Linked DNA regions of Homo sapiens: all the other regions are linked to region 6. Evidence: promoter capture Hi-C in 16 types of primary human blood cells and fetal thymus (Javierre and others, 2016). All regions are on one chromosome and are shown on one strand. Each heading gives the region's core, a stretch centred on a gene start or on the middle of the fragment in contact. The rest is flanking DNA. Distances are from core to core; before and after follow the strand shown.

Region 1 (3,549 bases), core at 705-3,204, 720 kb before region 6:
ATGACCCTAAAGAAAGATGAAAAACCTTTTGTTTTTTTTTTTTTAAGTAAAAGCAAATAGAATGAAAGTTGGATTGTTTTTCTTTTGCTGTGTTGTTTATTTGTAAATTTTTTTTTTTTTTTTTTTTTTAAGATAGAGTCTCACTCTTCACCCAGGCTAGAGTGCAGTGGCACGATCTTGGCTCACTGCAACCTCCACCTCCCAGGTTCAAGCGATTCTCCTGCCTCAGCCTCCCGAGTAGCTGGGATTACAGGCACCTGCCACCACGCCCAGCTAATTTTGTATTTTTAGTAGAGACAGGGTTTGACCCTGTTGGCCAGGCTAGTCTTGAACTCCTGACCTCAAGTGATCCGCCCGCCTTGGCCTCCCTAAGTGCTGGGATTACACGCATGAGCCACCATGCCTGGCTTATTTGTGCAATTAATAAACATTTCTGTTGCTTGGAGCAGGGAGGCAGTCAGCACCAGAAAAGGAGTGTTGCAGAGAAAAGTCTAGTCCTTTTGGTCCTGTAGTGACATGTAATTATGCCTTATTATACCTGGTAGGGAAGTTTTAGCTTGTGAAAAGTAGGTAAGTCATTATTAAGAAGCCAATGCATGACAAAATGTACCTCATGATTTTTCTTAATTACAGATATTTGTGTCATTTTAGAATGCACATGTTTGAGGAGGGAAAGGAGGCCTTTGAATTCACCTTGAAACGTGATTGCCTGGAGCTGAGAGGTGATTGGGTGTCAGCGATATTTTCTTGATTATCTTGGGGGCTGTTGGTTCTGGCCTCCTCCTGGCTCCCTTCCAGTCCAGCTGCTATCTCTCCACTCCCTGGGATGGGGCTCCATACCAAATGCTGCTTGGAGGCCCGAGGTACTGTCCTGGCCTTCAGGGAACCTGAGCTTTGGGTAGGTTATGCTGAAGAGCCTGTAGGCCATATGCACAGTTGGCTTATTTAGAAACTGTAGACATTTGTCTGTGTGAAGATTATCTGCTGTCAACACTGCTTTTGAGGCCATTATCACGTTCAGCTAGAAGACTTGCTTCTCTCCAAGAGTTTGAGCAGGTTGGGCACAGTGATTTACACCTGTAATCCCAGTGCTTTGGGAGGCTGAGGTAGGAGGATCACTTGAGACCAGGAGTTCGAGACCAGCCTGGGCAACACGGTGAAACTCAGCTCTACAAAAAATAAAAAAAAATCAGCCAGGCGTGGTGGTACATGCCTGTAGTCCCAGCTGCAGGGGAGGCTGAGGCAGGAGGATTGCTTGAGCCAAGGCTACCATGAGGTAGGGTCACATCATTGCATTCTAGCCTGGGCAATAGAGTGACACCCTGTGTCATAAAGAAAAGAGTCTGGGTGCCAGGAAAGACCTGTCCATTGGTCTAGAGTGATTTTGCTGCCTCTACATGTCTTACATGCCTCTACATGCCTCTACATGTCTTAACCTTGGTGTGAACTCCTCTAGCCTCTACAGACTAATGGATAGTATGTATCTTAGTCCATTCAGACGGCTATAACAAAATATCATAAACTGGATGGCTTCTGAGCATCAGAAATTTATTTCTCACAGTTCTAGAGGCTGGGAAGTCCAAGATCAAGACACTGCCAGATTTGATGTCTGGTAAGGGCCTGCTTCCTGGTTCACAGGATGGTACCTGTCACTGTGTGCTTTTGTGGTGGAAGGGGTCTAACTCTTTGGCGTCTCTTTTATAAGGGTGCTATTCCCAACCATGAAGAATGCCCTCATGACCTAATTACTTCCTAAAGGCACCATCTCCTAGTACCATTACCTTGGGGGTTAGGATTTCAACATAGGAATTTTTAGAGGGATGTAAACATTCAATTAATAATATTTTGCCCCTGCCCCCTGAAAATTAATGGCCTCCTTACATGCAAAATACACTCATTCCATCCTAATAGCCCCAATAGTATTAACTTGTTCCAGCACCAACTCAAGTGTCTGAAATCCAAAGTCTCATTTAAATATCATCTAAGTCAGATGTGTGTGATACTCAAGGTATGATTCATCCTTATGCAAATTCCCCTTCAGCTGTGAGCCTGTGAAATCAAGCTCTGTACACCCAAATCCAATGGTGAGACGGGCATAGGATGGACACTCCAATTCCAAAAGGTAGAAATTGGAAAGAAGAAAGGAGTAAAAGCTCCTGAGGAAGTCCAAAACCTTAAGGCTCAGGAATCATCATGTTTGGCTCATTACTCTGCCCTCCAGGCCCACTAGGGTGGAGGTTTCACCTCTCAGACACACTGGGGTGCCTCTGGACACATGGTGGTGGGGAGGGGGTTATGCCTCCTGCAGATCACCCAGGCCAGAATCTTGAGCTGGTGGCTCTACTGGTCTGGGGTCATGAGACAGTGCCACCCTCATGGCTCTGCTGGGCCCTGCCTCTGTGCAGTTCTTTGTCTGGGCCCCATGGCTCTCTAGGCATTGTTAGAAATCTAGGTGGAGGCAGCCACACCCCCTCACAGCTTTTCTGGTTGCAGTGCCAACTACACTGCACTGGGGCCCACAGGAGCCACCCTTGGGGCAGCCAAGGAGTGTGGTGACGGGGAGTGGGGAGCAGAGCCCACAATGTGAGGCAGGACTGGGCAGTGACAGCCCCTCCTTTGCATCTGCAATTGCTTTGTCCCCCAGGCCTTTGCACTCTGGCCTGTGATGATGGTGGCAGCAGAGAGGGTCAAAATATTCACAGTATTATAATGTTACATTACTTTTTCTCTGACTGAAAAGAACCAATTTTAATTGTAAAACATAACTAAAATCTCACCATCCAAAGATTACCACTGTTGACATTTGGTGTATATCTTTCCAGCCTTTCATTATTTTATGCACATTGAACACAAATAGTTTTCATGACTGAATTCTCTTTGTGATCACTCTTCCATTGTCTTGGACAGGAGGTCCTGGCTTCTGTTTAAACAGCTGACTAACCTTATCAGGTGGTTGGTTGGCCACATTCTTGATGTTCTCTCCTGAACAGGCTTTCTCATTCTTGATAGTATGGAAAGGCTGAGAGTTTTCCAAATCTTTAAGTTCTGCTTCCCTTTTGATTAACAATTTTGTCTTTAAATCACTTTTCTCCTCTGCTGTTTTACTATAAACAGTCAAGAGGAGCCAAGTTGCACCTTCAACACTTTGCTTAGAAATGGCTTTAGCTAAATATCCAATTTCATTACTCACAAATTCTGCCTTCCACAAAACACTAGGATACGAACACAATTCAGCCAAGTTCTTTGCTGGTTCATAACAGGATTGCTTTTCATTCAGTTTTCAATACCATGTTTCTCTTGTCTAAGAAATCATCAGATTGGCCTTTACCATGCACATTTCCACCAACATTCTGTTCACTACTGCTCAGCTATTCTTTAAGAATATTGAGGCTTTCTCTGCAGCTCTTCTCCTTTCCTTCTGAGCCCTTGCCAAAATTTCCCTTAAAGATCCATTTACAGCAATGTATACTGCTTAAAGCATGCACCTCCAAACTCTTCCAGCTTCTATCCATTACCCCTTCCACACTACTTGCATATTTTTGGGTATTT
Region 2 (3,057 bases), core at 217-2,716, 900 kb before region 6:
TGCTCTTGGTAGGCTGTTGGGTTCATCTGTTTTAAGCATAATTGCCATCTCTCAGCTTCCTAATACCCTTAAAACCTCTGAGAGTCTTTAATGTACAAAGTTCAACAAAAACACCTTCAAAACAAATTAGTTCTAATTATGTTTAATATTGGTTTGCTGCTTTATTGAATAATCTACATTTGCTTTTAAAAAAAGGAAATTCACTTAACTGCATGTCAGTCACCCAAGTTTTAAGTGTACAAATGAAATGGAAAACATTTATTACACAAATTTAATTACAATTCTAAGAAATAAACATGCAAATTAGATAGAGTTCAATTTGCAGATGCTAATCCTCATCCTTGATCTTGTTCCTTCCTCCCTTGATTTTCAGTCTGTGCGTCTTCTTGATTCCTAGGGAGCCAGGCAGCCAGAGGTCTGGTTTTTCACAGTCGGAGGATCACTGTTTTAAAGAAGTGTTATATTTAGCACATCTGGTATAGTGGCAGTAAACAAACATTATAGTCTTTGTAACACTTTTGTGCAGGTGCCTTCTCCCGATTTTATTAGGTCTATGCCTTCCAAGCCTCTGCCTTCATTACACCTGAAATGACCCATCTCGACTATGGAGGGGTCCCTAGACAGAAGTTATGAATTAATGATTTTAAAAAATAAACTCTGAGGCCACTATAGGAGAAAATTACTATTTGCAAAATATTCTGATTCCAAGGCTTAAATTACATTCTCTTGAGCAAGGACAATCTCTTGTATTACTTTTTATTTCCTGGAGGTTTTCCCTGGAGGCTCCCCACCCAGAAAGGGTTGCCAATTCAAGTTGCAGCAGGACCAAGGTTGCTTTTTTTTTTTTTTTTAATACGTACGCAGCTCAGGAGGGAAACGGGCGGGGGCGGGCGGCGAGGGAGAATAACTGTTTGGTCCTGCAAAGACATCTGTTTCTCATCTCCGTTTGCTGTGGCAAAGGAGAAGAAAGTCTTTTGCAAAGGGTGGGAAAGGCACAGATTTTTTTTTTAATCACACGCACACACAACAACAACAAAACTAAACCAAATTTAAAAAGACAAGATATCTCGGAAGGTTCCAGAGTGAATACATTATTCGGCTGGAGCCAAGCCCCCAGGGCTAGGGCGGGAGCCCGAGAGCGCGTGGGGTCTGGGCTGCGGGCTGGAGCTGGGCCCGCGTGTCCCCGGGCACCGGGAGGGGAGGGGAGGAAAAGGAGGAGGGAGGGCGGGAAGCAGGGAAGGAGGCAGGGGGCGGGCTGGGGTGGGGGTGCGGGAAAGGCGCCCCGTGTGCAGCCTGAGGAGCGGCGGCGGCGGCCTGAGCAGAGGGAGGGAGGGAGAGCGGGCGCGCTTGTCATGTTCCCTCTCTCACCCTGGGGGCATCCTGCAGAACCTCTCCTCGGAAATCCACGGGGAAATGGCAAACAGGATTGACGGGTTTCACACGCTCCTCGCTAGACAGAGCCGCTCATTACCATAACCGTCTGCAGCGACGGCGGCGCAGCGCCCCAGTCGCGGCGGCGGGACCTGCCGGGACCCTTGCCCGCCGCGCACCCGCAGTCACCGCCGAGCGGGCGGCCGGGCCGGGACCCGCGAGTGTGCACCGGCGGCCGGGCTGGCGCCGAGCCCAGAGCGGACCAGCAGCAGCTCAAGCGCTGCGGCCGCCGCCTCCCCGCTGACCCCGCGGTAAGAGCCGGGCTGGGCGCGGGCCGCGGGGGCGGGAGGGCCGGGCAGGGTGGAGGGCGAGGGCCCCCCGGGGCTCCTGCCCTCGCAGACGGGCACCCACGCGGCCTCCCGCGCGCCCTCTTGGCACCAGGGCTGTGCCGAGGTCACCGAGTGGACTCGCAGCGGCCGGAGCGGAGTCGGGGCGGCGTGGGGGCCAAGGCACAGCTGGGCGCGGAGGCGGCGCGGGCTTTTCCCTGGGCTAGCGTGCGCCGCGGCGCCTTCACCAGGGCGGGAACCGCCGCCTCCTCTAGGGCTGCTCGGGCTGCCACCCGCGCGCACCGAGACAACTCCAGGGGCGGGTGGGGTCAGAAGCTCTGGTGAGACCTCATGGTCCTCCGTGGCCGCTTAGTCCCTCATCGTAGGGGAAGGGGTTAAGTAGGAGGGGTGCCCCCAGGTCCGGATGCCGCGGCGCTTGGCAGGTGGGGAGAGAGGGATTGTGGATGTCAGGAGCGCGCGTTTGCAAGAAAAAGGAATTGATGCAGTAGCTGACACCTTCTGTCCCCCGCCACCTCCGCCCCCGCACCCTCCTCCCAGGCAGCAGAGCTGCGCTGCGGGCGGCGGCGGCTCCTCTGTCCTCAGCTCACCTCCTCGGCGGGCTGAGGCTGCTGCCCGCCTGGTCCACGCCTCCGCCTCTCGCTTCCCTTCCTCCCCTCCCGCCTCTTCGGCCCTAGCAACTTTCCGAGTGCCCAGCTGTGGTCGCAGAAGCAGGGAATAGGCGTCCTCGCCGCCAGGTCCCACGGGCGCAGGGCGCTCCCGCAACCGCGGGCTTCCAGCGGGTTTGGCCGGCAAGGGAGGGAGGGAAGGCCGGGCCGACATCTGCTGCGGGCTGGAGCGCGGGGGCCCGGGCCAGCCCCGCCAGAGCCCTGCCAGCCGCTGTGAGTCATTTCCTTGGAATCCTACCTTTGGTGTTTATTTCCCTTAGAAGGAAACTTGGTTTTTTTTTTAAAAAAAAAAAAGGATAAGACATAAAGAATAATAATAGCTCTTATTCTTCAGAAGAGGCACACGGCTGCGGCACCGTAGAAAGACAACTTGCCTTTGTTCCCGGACACTTGGGGTGTTGTTTACTTTCTCCTGCGGCCAGCGGCCGACCGGGCGCTGCTGGCTACCCGGGGAGGGGCTGAGGGCTGCGGCACCGACACCCCGGGGGTGTGTCTGTGCGGGAGCCAGGATGTGGTTGGTGGCTGCCGCCCGCCTTCAAGAGGTCGGCCCTCCAAACCTCGGACCCCACCCCCGCAACCGCCACACACACACACACCTTGGGCACCAGGGCTCGGGCATCGGAGCACCCCTTCGTGCTCTTTAGGCCCAGCACCTGCAGCCCCAACCACAGGAC
Region 3 (3,233 bases), core at 376-2,875, 700 kb before region 6:
TATGGCCATATTATAATCATCCCATGATTAGTTGTAACCAGGAATTTCTTCCAGGTTACTATGGGGAAGAGGTTGGACACGGGAATGAAATTCCCTTTCCAATGGCAAGGACTGGGGGAAGAGAGTTGTTTGGGAGGCAGCCAGTACTTTGTATTAGAGCAACTACTTCTGAATACAAAGTAGCAGTGTAGTGTTTCAAATTGGAAAATTTGAAAAGTAGTATAATAGGCAGCCAAGAAAATAGAAGATTTAAATGTTATAATTGTTTTATTCGACTCTTAAAACAATTAATTTGAGGCTTATGATTTGTAGAGTGACCAAATATCCCATTTTGCAGTCCTATTCTATATCTGTTTTCCTGATATCATTATTAATAGTTTCTTTCATTCTCAAAAGTGTCCCTGAAAAGTGAGCATCCATGGATTTTGGTATCTGTAGGGGTTCTGGGAACCAATTTCCCAGGGATGCGACTGGAGCTCAGGAGTGAGATTGGCAATGGAGACAGGTACGTGGGAACTGTTGCACACATGTGATAACTGAGGCCACAGGAGTAAAAGGACTTCCTTGAAAAATGTGTAGAATGAGAATAAAGGAGGGCCAAGTATAGAACTTTAGAGAATGTTAAAATTTAAGAGGTGAGCCGGAAAAGGAGTCAGTAACGAATGAGAAGGAATGTTAATAAACAAAGGAGGAAGCCAGTGGTTTTGTGAAGGTTGCAAGAAGAAAGCTCAATTTATCAGAGGTTGAAAAGAGGCTGCGTAAGAGGGGATTTAAGAGAGTCTTTCATTTTGGCAAATGGGAGGTCATAATTGACTTTGGTCATGGTTGACGTTGTTCATTTTGGGGGACTAAAGACCAGGGCTACAGAATAAATCAAAGGTGAAAAAATAGAGGCAGAAGCTAATATGCTGCTTTAGTTGTGTTAAATGATGACTTAACTGCCACGTAGTCTTAGATGGCCTTGCTATCACATAGCCCAGTGGGTCCTGACTGCATCTTTTTACCTTCTGGTGGACCTGCCATTTCCAGGCTGCTCCTCAGGGTCTCCGTCTCTCCAGGCTGCCATGATGTGGAGTATAGCATGGCAAACATCCCCTTTCTTTCCAGCACATGGGCACCTTCAGCTTCAAGGTTTTGGTGCTAATCCTTCTTGAGATGTTTCAGAAAGATAAAATAAGCATAAGGGGGTTATAAGGTTTGCAGAAGGCATGTGAGCTTTGGGCCCTGGTGGCAGCCTCTGATTTCCTTCTGAACTAATACAGAGATACTGTAATTTTTTTATTCTGTCACTTTTAACCTCTCGATGGCAGGGCTCTCATTCCACTAAGGCCCTTTTTTCCATCCAAAAGTTGCGGTTAAGTGTGAGACAGCAGCACAGACAGTAAAAGATGTCTCTTTGTCTTACATGGAAGAAGATATACAACAGATCCTTCATCTCTAAATCTCAGGACTGGGTAACATTCTACCCTGTCCAGGAATGACCCCCTCTGAACACCCCAAGCTGAGTGAGAGCTGCTTTAGAGATGCGCCTATACCACTGCCTCTGGGGTCTTTCTCCTGCAGCACTCACAGCGCAGGTGCTTAATGAGTACTTCACTTGCAGGTTCAGGTGAAGTAAAATTTCACAGGGACTCTGCCTGGCAGTTGACATCAGATTGGTGTTAGTGTGAGCAGCCAGATATCCAGATGAGTGATTGATACAAGATTTTGCATAAGGCAGCAAAGGGAAATCATGCGTCGTACATTATTGCTCCAAAAAGGGATCGCTGCAAGTTAACAGAAATAGAGAATATAAATAGAGGTTGTTTCTCGTGGGATTGATTTGATGTGGTTAATCAAAGGAGAGAAATATTCACATACTCCATGGAAGGTGTTTAATCCTCTCCTGGTGGGGGTGGAAAAAAAACAGTGGTGGCTGCTTGTCTGTCAGGGCTCCGTTGCTACTCCCTGGGATTGAGAGGACATTGGGAGCTCCATGGCAACAGGGTGACATTTGTTTTTCTTTCATTTCCCTTAATCCTCTCCTGGAGATATCAAACTAAAATTTTCTTCCCATTTATTTTTCTCTCTTTTCAGGGTGATGTTGATGATGATTATTAATTTTAACCTTCTCCTTCAATTTCTAGTGAGAGTTAGAGCTGCTGTAATCAGGCTCTCAGGTGGAGGCCAGGCTCCAGGAAGATCTTCCTGAGCACTGCCTGGGCAGGGCATTGGGCTGTGGATGTTGTCCACACCAGCGTTGTACCAGTCTACATGGGGTTACCTCTGCCCCCACTGTGGCTGGCCCAGCACCTGCATTAGACATATCTTACTGGAAGGATAGAACTTTAGAGAACACTGATATTTGACAGGTAGATAGAAAAAGAGGGCTATCAATGAATCAGAAGGAATATTAATTAATGAGGAAGTAAACAAGTGTCTTGTGAAGGTTTAAAAAAGAAGAAGGTACACAATTTATCAGAAGTTGAAGAGAGGCCAATAAGAGGGGAATGAAGAAAGTCTGTTTCAGTTTTGGCAAATGAGTCGTGATTGACTTTGGTCATGGTTGCCACTGTTCATTCGGGGGAATATAGACCAGGGTTGAATAATAATCAGACGTGAGAAAATGGACATAGTTTGGGGGAAATTTTAAATGTTTCTGCTTTCAGTAACTAAAAGCAATCAGAAACTAGTGGGAAATGTGATAGTGATTATAGCTTTCTGAAGGCCAGTGGGAGGCTGAATTCTCTTAATATGCAGGAATGTTCAGGAAGAGGGTACTGAGCAGCTCCTTTCCATGTCGGCCGAGTTCAAACAAGGTTTAAGTTTAAGCAAGGAAATGTTATTAGATATAGTCCTCAAGGGGTATACCACAGACTGGACACCTTCAGGAAGACACACACTATCTCTTATACAGCTGAAAATACACACATCTCTTTCCCCAAGTAACTATTCAAGTCCAGGCTCTCAGTGGGCTCAAGGGAGTGTCCACATCTCCTGGAATTTGGCCATAATGTTAATATCCTACAACTGTGGGCTCAGTTGTAGAGTTAGCTACCATTGACACCTTTATATTAAATAGAAGGGGAAAGAGATGGGAATGAAGAGAAATACTAGCTAAAATTTACATGTAAATGCATTACACAGCAAATAAGAAAATACAGGTAATCGTTTAGAGCTAATTTTTATGTTTTTCATTAAGAAAACTTTTTAACTTGTAAAACTGATATATGATGTACATATTTTGGGGGTAT
Region 4 (3,180 bases), core at 570-3,069, 740 kb before region 6:
TGAGAGCACTAGGGTCAATCCCTGCATTGGCCACTCTCAAGCTGTGTAACCTTAAACAAGTTCCTGAATATCTCTAAGGCTGCTTCCACAGTTGTGCAAGCAGGATGGCACTGCTGGCTTCGTGGAGTTGTGGAGAGGGTCTGATAATCAAATGTTTTTCAGAGTTATGCTTGCACATGAGGACAGCCCAATAGATGGTGTCTGCTGCTGTCATCTGCTGGCATTTGCTCCTGGGAGCAGTTTATGGTGTTCAAGAATGGAGGTGACGGTCTTGAGATTCCAAAATCCTCAAGGGCATAGGCCATGTCTAGCATCCATACCAATGTTCCCATACTGATGGTCTTTTCAAGCTTGTCTTGGGTCCTGGGGGAAAGGATTGAGAAACACAGCCCCTTCCCTTGGGGAGTCACAGTTGAGTGGGAAGTTAGGAAAGCAAATACTGCTCACTCTTCTGTACCTGATGTTGTTGGCTGGGCACGTTACTATGGGAGAAGGTGTAGGTCTCACCTGCCGTTCTGGTCTCAGAGCAGGCCTCCGAGAAGGTGGCTTTTGAGCTGTGGCTTGAAGGAAATGGAGTTTACTTATTTCACCTTTCTGCATCTTGTTACCAGGCAGGGGTGGACAGGTGGACTAGGCTTCTTCTCTGCAGAGCACATCTTATCCAATATCAGTAGGAGGTATTCCTTTGCATTTTTCTTGGAATGAGGCAGAGTGAGCACTGAGTCATCTCCCTCTGTATGTGCCTCTCTCATCCTCTGGGTGACCACGGGTTTGATTTGTGAGACAGCTGGTGGGCCGGGTTCTGCCTGTGGCTGGGGCACAGTGCTTTCTTTGTCTGAGTTTGCTTGGCCCTTACATAAGTATGAACCACAGCGTTGGCCTCATTAGCTCTCTGCTTTCACCACCTGGACTAAGTGTTCCAGATGGCCTTAATTCGGGTAGTTGTTTTTGGTACTTACTCAGAGTGGAAGATTTAGGCTGCAGTTGTCCTTTTTTCTCCCCATTCTCTGAGGCATCCTAAACTATAGGCAACACTATGCAGGGACAGGCTTTAGCAATTCTTGCTGTTGTAGCCTTAAGCCCTGAAGGATTCTAGCCTCCTCCTTTATCTACTATCTAATCTCGTCTCTTCCTTGGCTCATTCCACCTCCTCCCATGGAGAGGTGACAGGTTATTTTTATTTTCAAAAGCATGATCTATCTTTTTTTTTTTTTTTTTTTTTTTTTTTTTTTTTTTGCCATGGTAAGAAATAAAACTTTCCACTGAGTTCCTTGGCTCAGTTAAACACCCTTTCCCTGGATAAGGCTCTCTCTTTGGGTTTTGGTGAGACTTCATCAGGAGCCAGTGCCCCTGGAGGGAAGGCTGAATCATGGCTTTCAGCTTTGGCTGTGCATTTGTTATGATTGGATTGGATGTCACGGGTCAGACAGTTGCCTCCTTTCATGAACGCCAACTGTGGCCTCACTACCACCTGAGACATTGTGTTCTCTGCCCTCAGAACCAAAAAATACCCCCGTGTGAACTTTTTGAGAAGACTGGCCTGGTGTAGGGTTGAGGGTGGGTGCTGTTGCTAACCACAGAGCCGGGTTCTCACTGTGCCTCTGACGGGAGAACCCACATCATTAGCAATTGACTGACAGGCTGAGCTCATCAGGCGCAGGTAATGCAAAGGGCTGAGAAGCCTGACCCATGGTGCTGAGTGAGATGAGTTAACCAACCTCTGGAAGGCTGCAGGGAGCAGGGTTCTTTTCCAGGACAGTCCCAAATCTATCCACTGAATAGAAATCTCATGTGCTAATGGTTTTCCTGGAATCAGCCCCTTCTACCTCCATCAGTGCATGTCTAAGGAGGGATGAAATTCCTTTTACGTGGGCCTGCTGGCCTTTGCTCCCAGGAAATGGGATGCAGTTGTTCAGACTGTGGGATGGGTGGGTTGTATTTTTCTGTTTGGGGAGATTATATATACATATGTATGTATATATATAATACATATATATTTCAGTAGCAGCTGCTATTGATTATGTAGTATGTAATAAATTGTGTCATACATAAGATTGATTGATTCCCTTTATTATTTTCCGAATAATGCTCCCATTGAGTGGTTTCTTGGCAGATGTGCAAAAAGAATTAATAGGCAGGGACGTCTGATAATGTTGCCAACAGGAATTCTGACCAAGGCTCTACACTTTCACTCCTCCCTACAGAGGTAAACTCTAAGGAGGGAACCCACCAGGCATACCCTATTATCACTTGGCACCCTTGGCACAGAATGAGCTGAAGTAGAAACAGATGGTGTGAGAAGGGGCATTGTCTGGCAGTTTTTCCTGACTCCTTATGAAGAAGGTTAAGAGTATGGATTTCAAAAGAAAGGAGGGCAAATCTGTAGTCTTTTCTTAAGGGCACTGACACCAATCCTTGGAGCTCTGCCAGCTCAACTGGTTATTCTCCCGGGAGACTCTGCTGGGGTGATGGATAGAAGCCTCTATAACAGGTATCCACTTTCCTGGATTGGTACCTGTGCCCCATCAGTTGTTAACTATTGGAGATTTCCCCCAACAGAAGTGGAGTTGTTAAGAGATGCTGTGAGTAGCAAACAGGTAATAGGCAGTGAGATGTGAAATGTCTCTTCCATTCTACCTACATTAGCAAAACAGCCATTGTTTATAAGGGGTTAAGTAGGACAAGTAGAGACTTTGGAAGACAGTAGGTTTTCACATTATTGGGTTCCAAAGTCCACATTTTACTGCTATTTTCTTGTTTTTTCTTAGTCATGATCTCAAGGTTAAATCCCAAGACTTGGGAAAGCATATCCATCTACCCAGCTATCCATCCATGCAACTATTCTCTCCATCCTTCCATCCAATAGTTATGAAACACGTGATATATGCTAGGCACTGTGCTAGATTCTGGGCTTACATTACTGTAATCTAAACAAGGCAGGAGTTTAGCCTATTAAGGAGACTATCAAGTAGAGTCAGACCCCATTTTGAGAGTGGTTCAGTGTAGACTCAGGGAGCAGAGGGGAAGGATGCCTGCTTAAGTCAACCAGGGTTAGTAAGATCTATGTCTCATCAAAAAGGCCATAGCGTTCAGTCTGGCTTTGTCTCCACTGCTGTAAAAATAGAGTATACTTTCTTATTTTTCATCAGCCTTTTAAACACTTCCCCTCTTCCCCGGCTT
Region 5 (3,190 bases), core at 233-2,732, 980 kb before region 6:
GCCCAACATGTTTTACTTAAAATCACATTTGTAAATGTTATAATTGGTTTTCATTGCTGTATAGTATGCCATTGTATGAACTCAGTACAAACTATCCATTCTATTGCTTGGATCCAATATGAGTAATGCTGCTATGGACATTCTTTCATATGTCTCTTGATAAACACTGCACTTATTTCTGATGGGTATATATGTAGGGGTGGAACTGCCAGATCATAGGGTATGTGTATTTATAACATTTAAAACATTGGTATCACTCCACATTTCTACAAGAGAACTATGATAGTTCCCAGTGCTTTGTCCTCACCACATTTGGTATTCTTTTAGCTCATCTGTTTGTTGTGTAGCGTTACCTCATAGTTTTCATTTCCATTCCCCTGATTACTAATGAAGTCAAACAATTCAAAGAAACCTGCCGATATTTTTATTGGAATTGAATTTAATCTATGGATTAATTTGGAAAGAATGTTACAAAATTGAGCTAATACAGTAACAGTTTATATAGTACTTTTTGGTTTCTCCCAATAATGTTCATAGTTTTCTGTATAGAGGCCTTGCATATCATTTGTTACATTTATTCCTACATATTTTATATTTAAATGCCATAATAAATGATATTTTAATAAATTTTATTTTCTGTTTGCTTCTGATATATAGTAATGTATGGATTTCTAAATTTTACCTCTGTATACAACTGCAGTTCATCTGTAGATTTGTTCCTGTGTACATAATTATGTAATCTGCACATAAGGGCTTTTTAAAAAAATCTAGTCCCCTTCCAAATCATTATACTTTTTATTTCATTTTATTGTCTTTAGTAAGGCTAGGATCTTCACTAGCTGGTATCTCCACTACAGTGTTGACTAAAAGTAGTAATAGTTGGCAATTTCAAAGGGGAAACATTAACATTTTTTGCTATTAAGTACGATGTTGCATGTTGCTAGATTTGGTTTGCTGATGTATATTTAGGATTTTTTCATCTAGATTCATGAATGAGAAAATCTTGTAATTTTTCTTTTTTATAATGCCCTTATTAGATTTTGGTTTTAATATTTTGCTAAATTCTTAAAGGAAGTTGAGGAGTGGTTTCTCTTTCTCTAATATCTGAAAGAGTTTGTGTAAAACTAGCATTATTAATTAGAATTCACTAGTGAAGCCATCTAGGCCAAAGTTTCTTATTTTTGTTTTGTATGTGTATTTTGGAAAGGCTTTTAATTACAAATTCAATTTCTTTAGTAAGACTGTTTCTGAACAGTCTTCCAGCATCTCTTCTGGTTGGTAATAACTTTCTAGAAAGATGTCTATTTCAGAGGTCTCCAACCCCCCGGCCACAGACCAGTACCAGTCCATGGCCTGTTAGGAATGGGCGCCGCACAGCAGGAGGTGAGCAGCAGTGGGCTAGCGAACATTACAGCCTGAGCTCGGCCTCCTGTCAGATCAGTGGCAGCATTAGATTACCCTCTACATCCTGTCCATGGAAAAATTGTCTTCCAGGAAACTGGTCGCTGGTGCCAAAAAGGTTGGAGATCGCTGGTATATTTCATTCAAATTTCAAATTTACTAGAAGAAACAACTTTCTTCTAGTATCCTATCCTATTATTTTTTCATGGTCTCTAGAATATGTAGTGATGTCTCCTTTTTCATTCCTGATCATTGTTATTCGTCCCTTTTTTCTTAATTGGACTCTCCAGAAATTTATTCATTTTATTAGTCTTTCAAATCACTTATTTTTATTATCATTTAGTTACCTATGGGTTACTAAAAGTATACCTTTAATTTCCAAAAAATATAGATATTTTATTCTCCTCTAGAACAGAGTTTGGTTTTCTAATCAATCAAAAAACATTATGAATAATTTTCATCATTTGAAATTATTATTTGCTTTAATTTAAAAATTCTGTGTACTTGGGAAAATTATATTTTGTAGTTATTAGGTATAATATTCTGCATATGACCATTAGGTCAATTTTGCTTATTGTGATATTCAAGTCTTCTACATCCTTATGGTACTTATTTGTCCACCCATTTGGTCAGTTACTGAATTTGGTCAGTTAATGAGGGAAGTGTGCTTATGTACCCAGTGATTATGGATGTCTGTGTTTCTCTTTCTAGTTCTGGCCATTTTTGCTTTCTGTATTTTGAGTCCATGTTATTAAATGCATCCAAATTTGGGATTATTTTAGTTTTTAGTAATTTCAATGTTTTATCATCATTTTGTATACTTCTTCAATCTCTAGTGGTGATTATTGCCTTAAAGCCAACCCTGACTGATACTAATGTAACTACATCAATTTGTTTGATTATTTTTTACATGATTAATTTTTCCCATGTTTTTCAACTTTTCTATATCTCTGTGTTTTAGATGTTGGCTTATAAATAGCAGGTAGTTTTGTTTTGTTTATTTAAAGGCACAGTTAGGACATTTGATGTATTGAGTCTAAATCTTTGTCAGTCTTTTAAGGTTGATAATCTTTAAACAATAATTTCTCATATTCAAAAAACAGTTTATTAGCATCTATAAGTTTAAGCAACATTGCTCTTATTTCCTTATAAATATGCAGGGATTTATGAAATCTTCTCATTTCCTATTACTTCTTTGGCTTTTACATAATGAAAAGAAATCCAGGGGCTAAAATATGCTAAGGACAATAATTCTAATCTGGTGTTTGGTTTGCAACTCATCTTTATTGTGATTTACCTACCTAATCCAAATAAACATGGCATAACAATATATCTCTTAATATATCTCTCTTGCAAAATACTATAAAAATGTTATTATTGATTACAGGGCTGTGACTCCCAAATGAGCGTGTCAGAAATGTCGTGTAGTGAAAGTACATCCTCATGTCAGTCTCTTGAACATGGCTCAGTTCCAGAAATTCTTATTGGCCTGCTTTATAATGCCACAACTGGAAGACTATCAGCAGAAGTGATAAAAGGCAGCCACTTCAAAAATTTGGCAGCAAACAGACCACCCAGTGAGTGAAAAATAATTTTTTTAATTCTAATGTTTTCTGCACTTTTGGGACTCTCAGTATTAGGGAGTTCAATCCTATCATTTAGTCTTAACCAATCAAAATGAAATGGTGTAATCATCAGCTAATCTGTTTCATGTTTTCTATTTCCAGTCATTTGGGAAGTAGAAAAATTTGAAATTCAAAGTATTCATAGTAAGGTGACAACTTTTAAT
Region 6 (3,396 bases), core at 761-3,260:
TATATGATAGATGTCCTCTAAGGAATACCAGCCTCAGGCATTGTTTGCTCTGCCACTTTGAATAAGCCACTTAATATTCCTAGGACTCAGTTTTCTGATCTGTAAAAGAGGAACATTAATACTGCACAGGACCACTGGGAGAAAATATCTAATAAAATGATCATAAAATATTGCTATTCAAAGGTAAAATGCTATTTTAATACCGTAATGTCCAAAAAAGGGCTCATGGATTTTAGAATGAGACAATCAATATCTTTAAATAGACTTTTTCCACCACAGTAAAATAATATAATGCATGCAGATATTGTGATATTTCTAGGAGTTCACATTTTTTCTTCCATTTGTGTTCAGGAAATATTATAAAAGGGATCACCTTTTAAACATTGAGTCCCATATTTCAAGATGAGAACCATTTATTCTGAAATAATAATTTTAAAAATTCATCCAACTCTCCCAAGATGCTTCATTTTTTTTGATGCTATTCATTTGATTGGTTAATTGAAATCAACCTGCTGAAACTGGTGTTGAAATGACAATGCCCATCCTAAAAATATTCCCAGTGACTTATTCTATTCACATTCTATGATTACAGAGGGAAAGTGGCTCTAATAAGATCAACTAAAATAGACAGTATTCTGCCTTCACAGCTCCAAGATTCTTAAGGTTCCCTTAAAACCCAAGGCATCTTGTGACTTTTACATGTAAGTTTCTCTTCCTGCTCCCTCCACTCAAAAACATACACAGTATACATTAGGTACTGGGTTTCCCCTCTAACTTACAGGGCACTGCCTCTTTACTGAAAAATAGAATTGTCATTGATATTTATGAGAAAGTTGGTGTCACTGACAATGGGATAACCAAATTTGCAAGATTGTCTCCATACCCCTTAATAGTCCAATAAAAATAGCAATAATAGCACAGTAACTCTTATTTTATTTAAAAATAAATGAACAACTCCAGCTTTTTTATGGCAAAACAGTTCATTGTGGCTGTTCACATAGCAATTATCATCCCCTTGCATCCCCAGGTAATGACTGTGACCTTGACCTAAAAGCCACCTTAGTTTGAATAAGGAAGACCTTGAAAGGAAAGGTGACTGACCAGAAACACTCTTAAGAGGCACACAATAAAGAAATGATCATTTCTAAGAAAGTACTTAAATAATACGTGATTATTTGCTATGCTAGTTGATGTGTTTCATTATAAGATAAACTTAAATCACTGTTTAATTAAAGAGTGTTTATTAGTAGCATAAGTCACTTTTCATGCCCTTCCCCTGAATCCCTAACTAAATCCAAACAGAAGCTCATCATTTTACACAGAAGCTCCTTAGACTCTGAAATCGTGATATTTACACATTATTAAAACCCATTTCCTAAGTTAGCTCCTCATGTCTCCCTGGTAGAAGAATGTCATCTGTTTCTGGAAGGGGTGGGGTGGGGGCTCTAGGAGTCTGCAAAGAGCATCTTATGCTTGGCTATCTTTCAATATAGCCATTTGATGAACTCGTGCGCTGCGCCTTCCAACTGCCAGGACTCCTAGTCGCTCTGCAAGTGCTTAGTTGGGGTCTCTCCTCTGTTAAGTCCGAAAGGCGTTTGGAATTCTTCCTTTCCATCCCCGCTCCTAGGACTCTCGCCTCTCAAGGCTTCATGCTACCGTCGATCTTAATGCCACAAGGAAACAGATGAGTGCTGATTGTCAGTTTATTGGGTAATGGATCTATTTATAGGTTTGGTGAGATTGGGAATTTATAGGTGAGCAACACTTAAGGGTGGCATAAAACCGTTGTGGGTTTGGAAGAGGGGAAATATAACAGGTTTGTACCTGTGACCATTTAGTTCGCTCTGCACCTGTGCCCTCCACTTCCCACCTGACGCCAGGAAAACCATCTGCCCCTCACTTCGAAGGTGAGCCTTAACTTCACCTAGAAAGTGGTGGGTGGGTGAAGGGGTGGAATCAGGCCGCCGAGAGCACGTCCCGACACCTCGGACTTTTCAGTTGCAGGGATGGAAGGTGGAGGCAGCCGGATCCTCCCATTCTGAGGCAGCGGGGACCTGGAGTTGCCCGTCTCTACTGCTGGCTCTCCCTGGGGAGAGGCGGCGCCTCTGGGAGCAGCCCGGGAGCCCCAGAGCCTTCGCGGAAGGGTGGGCAGTGCCGATGGGGCGCGCGCTGCCGCTCCGGCTGCAGCCAGCTTTCCATCACTTTTCCCAGTACTTTGCTCAGCAGCTGTCACGCATCCTTGGAGATAAGACCGAGAGGGCGCTAGAAAGGCCCAAAAGGCGTCCCCAGAAGAGCTCTCCTGTTAGGATGGGGACCCATCAGACCCCGCCCCGCCCTGCCCACCTTTCTCTGCCTCGGGGAGGCTGCCCTGGGTGCCCGCGCCGCGGCTCCTTAGCAGAGCTCGCGGGTTCTGCTGCATCTGCTGGCTCCGAGCGGCGAGAGGTTCTGCAATAAAGGCACGGATAAAACGCCCGGGTAATCGAAATCCGAATGCACCTCTTACCATTGGACCGCCGAACAATATTCTCCAGAAACGTGTTTTGAGGGGCCACTAGTCCCCTCCTGCCCCCAGCCATGGTCATCCTCCCAGCAGCTCGGGGTCCGGCGGGCGTCCTGGCGCGGCTTCTTACGACAGCAGGAAACTGGCCTCGGGGCCCGCACGCAGTCCCGGCTCGAAGCGCCCCATGCGCCCGGCGGGGATCCGCAGGCAGGGCTGGCGGCTCCCTCTGGCTGCTACCCTCGCGCCCTCTTCGCGCCTCCCTCCCTGCGGCCCGCCTCGCAGTGCACTCGCGCCGGCCTCGGCTAGCGGCAGCCGCCTCCGGGTGGGCGGAGGGAGCAGCGGCGCCTGGGCCGGCGGCGCCCCCTACCGGGCTCGTGCCCCACCGCCGGCCTGCGGGAGACCAAGCTGGGGGGCTCCCGCAGAGGCAGGGAAGTGGCGGGCGGCCGTGGACCAAGGCTGGGACGGCAGCGCCACCCTCTGGGTTCAGCCGGGAAATGTGTTCAGGATGTGCCATGGGCTGGGTGGAGAGGAGGGCATTGTGAGCAGCTTTCAGGGCGGATTCACCCCCAACAAGTCTTAGGGGAGCGTGCTGATGTAACTCTCTTCCTTTGCTCTGTTTCAGGCCGGGGCCCCCGGGACCTGTGAGGCTCTGGGAACACCTTCTTGCCTTCCTGTAAGGTTAGCCTGACTAGTGAAAGTTGCCCCACCTTGATTCTAGGCCAGTGTTTGAGCAGTAATTAATGAAGTCGTATTGCAATAGTGCAGATTTAGAGTGACTGGCAGATTCAGCTTCAGAAGAGTTGTCTTGGGTTGTTTTTACCGTAGACACAAATGCAGGCTCCTGATGTTTGGTATGATCAGTATCAAACTGCCTGACAAACATCAAAGGGGTGGAC
Region 7 (3,531 bases), core at 654-3,153, 1.0 Mb before region 6:
CCTTCTAAGTACTCAACTCAGTGCCCCATATATTATGTTTTCTACACTTTGTTCAGAATGTGAATTATTCTCAGGCCTATGTGAGTTGTGGGGATTGTTCTGCTTGATTCCTTCCAGCACTTCTTTCCTTGGCCATAGGTAGTTTGGGATTCAAAATGAATTTTTAAACTATGAGTGAGACTTAAGCATATTTAAATATGGCTGAGACAAATTCACTGAAGCCTGATATTTAGGATGTGAGACAAGAAGCCTGTAGAAAATAGGATCCAGACAGCAGGTGGAGAAATTGGTCTGAAATACAAGGGATGCCTCCTCTTACAATGGTAAGAAAGAAGGAGAGAATCCAGATGTCAGAAAGTTTGTAGATATTTTCACAGGAAGTTGAGGAAGTTTCCACATATTGAGAGGTGTGTGTGTATGCGTGCATGTGTATGTGAGAGAGAGAGAAGCAGGAGGCAGGAATGAGTAAGGAGAAAGGGAACGGGGTCAGTGATTTTAGGAGAATGGAACTGGGTCAGCTGATTTTAGAAAATGGAAGATTTATAATAATTGGGGAAATGGAAAAATAAATTTACCCGAGAAGTATAACTAGATTGTAAGTATAGCCAGATGATGGCCAAAGTTCCAATTCATCCCATTGTGTGATGCTTTTCCTAGTACAATCAAGGAGTTAATTGGTTCTTCCAAGGTTAGCGTTTTGGCAGCTTGGAATGCCAGCTTGATAGAGGAAGAAGTAAGGACAAGAAGGGGCTGATGAACAAAAAGTATAGTGTCAAGCACTGAAGGTCCAGTCAAAGCATGGTGTTATGAGAGCAGTTGAGTGGGCAAATTATGTTAGAAAAAAGAGGTGTAGTTAGCACCTGTTTTACTTAGTAACTTTGGCGAAGACCTCACCGTAGCCTCTGGTGGTGCCGAGGCCCAATAAATAATAGTGAGACTGGGAGGGAGAAGTCATTAGAGATGAGAAAATCAAATAACTTAGTGTGCAGACTGTTAGAAGGATCATTCATGTGGAAATTTAATTCACCTTAAGTCACATTAAGTCAGAGAGATGTTAGGGTACAGGGGAATCTGTGAGCCAGGTGGAATTCTTCACTAAAGGAGCAGGCCTCACTAGATGATTAGCAGTTGAAACATTGCTGAGAGGGAGAAGATGGTACAGTCAGATGGCAGGAGCTTCAGACTGAACCACAATCTGCAGGAGTGCCTCATGGATCCTGGTAACATATGCTTGAAAATTTTATACAAATGAATTTCTGTCAGTGTTTGGGCAGATTTGAAGGGACTTACCCAATTTTGTAATTTGTATCAATCCCCTCTGAAGGCCCAAACAATATCGGGAACTCTGAAGAGGAGGCAGGTGTGGGCCCCAGATTTGAAAGGTAAACTCGTAGGACACAGCCTCCTTCACCTCCTATGCTCACATTCTTGATGGGCAGTTACCATACCCCCACCAAAAATCATCACCATCCCACTGGCACTCTTCCTTGGTAGAAATGTGGGGACCTCACTACTCTTGTGAATTATAGAGGGAAAAATAATGAAAGTGAATATGAGGATGAAGCCAGATTATAAAGATCCTCAAAAACAGAATAAGGGATTTAGACTTCTTAGTAAAAAGACCATTCGAATTAAGAGTCCAGAATCCTAAGTCCTAGTCCATTTTCTCCAGAACAACTAGATATGTTAAAACTTTCAGAAAGATATTTAATTAACCTCTCCAGGCCTTATTTTTTTTTTTCATTTCTAAGGTAAATAGGTAGAGTAGGTTGATTTGAACCATGTTCTCCAGAAATGCTCTGGGATTCTGGAAATGTTTGCTTCAAATTTCTTTTTTTTTTTTTTTTGAAATGGAGTTTTGCTCTTGTTACCCAGGCTGGAGTGCGGTGGCGCAATCTCACCTCACTGCAACCTCCGCCTCCTGGGTTCAAGTGATTCTCCTGCCTCAGCTTCCTGAGTAGATGGAATTACAGGCATGCGCCACCACGCCCAGCTAATTTTTGTATTTTTAGTAGAGACGGGGTTTCACCATGTTGGTCAAGCTGGTCTCAAACTCCTGACTTCGTGATCCACCCGCCTCAGCCTCCCAAAGTGCTGGGATTACAGGCGTGAGCCACTGCGCCCAGCCTCTTTTTTTAATTATAATTTAAAATGGTAAATAAAAAAAAATCAACATAAACACATGCTGTGTACTAAATTTTAATCTATTGGAAATTGTTTACATGTTAACTCACTGTATTAGTCCATTCTCAACACTGCCAATAAAGACATACTGAGGCTGGGTAATTTATAAAGAAAAAGGGTTTAATGGACTCATAGTTCCACATGACTGGGGAAGTCTCACAACCATGGTGGAGGCAAATGAGGAGCAAAGTCACATCTTACATGGCGACAGGCAAGAGAGCCTGTGCAGGGGAACTGCCCTTTATAAAACCATCAGATCTCATGAGACTTATTTACTATCAAGAGAACAGCACAGGAAAAACCCACCCCCATGATTCAATTACCTCGCACCAGTTCCCTCCCATGACATGTGGGGATTATGGGAGCTACAGTTCAAAATGAGATTTGGGTGGGGACACAGCCAAACCATATCACTCACTATCTACTTTTTTGTCTTCTATAGATTTACTAATAAAGCCACTTCTCCCATATCTCTCTATATATTTGAAATTCTTGTAATTGTGACTTGGGAATAGCTATAGGTTGGTGTTGATATATTGTTTAATTGCTATATATTGTTTAATTTAGTCCTATATATGTCTGCCAAAAAAATTCTATTAATACTAAATTCATACATCACAGTCACTGCTTTTTCTATATTTAAAAAATCAGGTAGTTTTAATTATTTGCATAAAATCAGGGTAGTTTTCTTTAAAATATAAGCAATCATTATAGTAATGGTTTAACTTAAAAAGTTTCTGTAATGTTCCCTAACTTTATCTTTCAATTTTCTTGGTCAGTTCAATGAATTAATATTCTGACATTGCAAGACAAGGTAATTCACAACTTATCAGCTCTTTATTGATTTTATACATAAAATAAAACACAAACACTGGATGCAAAGTTAATATATGACTAAACTGTTACCAACAAACCTAAATATCAAATTTCATTTTTTATTGAAATAGCCTGTTATAATTTGAGCTCAGTAATAAATGTACTAATACAATGCTATACTTACCTGTTTCATGTATTTGAACGTGGAATAAGATTTTATTTTTTTAAAGAGTACTTTTATTTTTTTTTTTTTTGAGACAGAGTCTTGCTCTGTCACCTAGGCTGGAGTGCGGTGGTGTAATCTCAGTTCACTGTAACCTCCACCTCCCAGGTTCAAGCAATTCTCGTGCCTCAGCCTCTCAAGTAACTGGGACTACATGCGTGTACCACCAGGCCTGGCTAATTTTCTTTTTTCTTTTTTTTTTTTTTTTTTTTTTGATTTTTAGTGGAGATGGGGTTTTGCCATGTTGCCCAGGCTGGTCTCCAGCTCCTGCTAGGATTACAGGTGTGAGCCACCACACCCAGCCAAAA

The links. The method cuts DNA at HindIII sites, captures the fragments that hold promoters and counts their contacts. A CHiCAGO score of 5 or more calls a contact.
Region 1: a fragment that was not itself captured here is called in contact with the fragment with the promoter of KCNH1-IT1 in region 6 in 15 of 17 cell types (fetal thymus, endothelial precursors, M1 macrophages and 12 more); the score reaches 15.6 in fetal thymus.
Region 2: a contact is called between the fragment with the promoter of SERTAD4 here and the fragment with the promoter of KCNH1-IT1 in region 6, in 3 of 17 cell types (M1 macrophages, M2 macrophages and erythroblasts). The highest score is 6.9, in M1 macrophages.
Region 3: a fragment that was not itself captured here is called in contact with the fragment with the promoter of KCNH1-IT1 in region 6 in 7 of 17 cell types (M2 macrophages, M1 macrophages, M0 macrophages and 4 more); the score reaches 13.6 in M2 macrophages.
Region 4: a fragment that was not itself captured here is called in contact with the fragment with the promoter of KCNH1-IT1 in region 6 in 13 of 17 cell types (naive CD4 T cells, M1 macrophages, fetal thymus and 10 more); the score reaches 14.2 in naive CD4 T cells.
Region 5: a contact is called between a fragment that was not itself captured here and the fragment with the promoter of KCNH1-IT1 in region 6, in 1 of 17 cell types (M2 macrophages). The highest score is 5.8, in M2 macrophages.
Region 7: a contact is called between a fragment that was not itself captured here and the fragment with the promoter of KCNH1-IT1 in region 6, in 1 of 17 cell types (M2 macrophages). The highest score is 5.9, in M2 macrophages.

What each region holds. Positions count from the first base shown.
Region 1 is chr1:210,410,417-210,413,965 of GRCh38, forward strand. The region is part of intron 6 of HHAT (hedgehog acyltransferase); the gene reads left to right. Among named protein-coding and RNA genes, the nearest start is that of HHAT, 83 kb to the left of the region's middle. The HindIII fragment of the contact is 7,234 bases long and covers 1-3,549 here.
Region 2 is chr1:210,231,330-210,234,386 of GRCh38, forward strand. It overlaps SERTAD4 (SERTA domain containing 4), which reads left to right and starts at 1,467. Exons shown (of 4, transcript NM_019605.5): 1 at 1,467-1,682. SERTAD4-AS1 (SERTAD4 antisense RNA 1) reads right to left here and starts at 2,556. Exons shown (of 2, transcript NR_024337.2): 1 at 2,306-2,556; 2 at 127-442. RefSeq lists an enhancer at 1,345-1,878. The HindIII fragment of the contact is 4,360 bases long and covers 1-3,057 here.
Region 3 is chr1:210,431,672-210,434,904 of GRCh38, forward strand. The region is part of intron 7 of HHAT (hedgehog acyltransferase); the gene reads left to right. Among named protein-coding and RNA genes, the nearest start is that of HHAT, 100 kb to the left of the region's middle. The HindIII fragment of the contact is 8,555 bases long and covers 1-3,233 here.
Region 4 is chr1:210,393,029-210,396,208 of GRCh38, forward strand. The region is part of intron 4 of HHAT (hedgehog acyltransferase); the gene reads left to right. Among named protein-coding and RNA genes, the nearest start is that of HHAT, 66 kb to the left of the region's middle. RefSeq lists an enhancer at 677-971. The HindIII fragment of the contact is 2,942 bases long and covers 349-3,180 here.
Region 5 is chr1:210,152,933-210,156,122 of GRCh38, forward strand. SYT14 (synaptotagmin 14) reads left to right here. Exons shown (of 9, transcript NM_001146262.4): 7 at 2,789-2,978. Among named protein-coding and RNA genes, the nearest start is that of SERTAD4, 78 kb to the right of the region's middle. The HindIII fragment of the contact is 6,999 bases long and covers 1-3,190 here.
Region 6 is chr1:211,131,364-211,134,759 of GRCh38, forward strand. It overlaps KCNH1-IT1 (KCNH1 intronic transcript 1), which reads right to left and starts at 2,011. Exons shown (of 2, transcript NR_046784.1): 1 at 1,825-2,011; 2 at 916-1,663. KCNH1 (potassium voltage-gated channel subfamily H member 1) reads right to left here and starts at 2,785. Exons shown (of 11, transcript NM_172362.3): 1 at 2,504-2,785. The coding sequence starts at 2,582. RefSeq lists silencers at 575-775, 2,002-2,192, 2,687-2,966. The HindIII fragment of the contact is 10,582 bases long and covers 1-3,396 here.
Region 7 is chr1:210,135,851-210,139,381 of GRCh38, forward strand. All of the region lies in intron 6 of SYT14 (synaptotagmin 14), which reads left to right. Among named protein-coding and RNA genes, the nearest start is that of SERTAD4, 95 kb to the right of the region's middle. The HindIII fragment of the contact is 6,290 bases long and covers 1-3,531 here.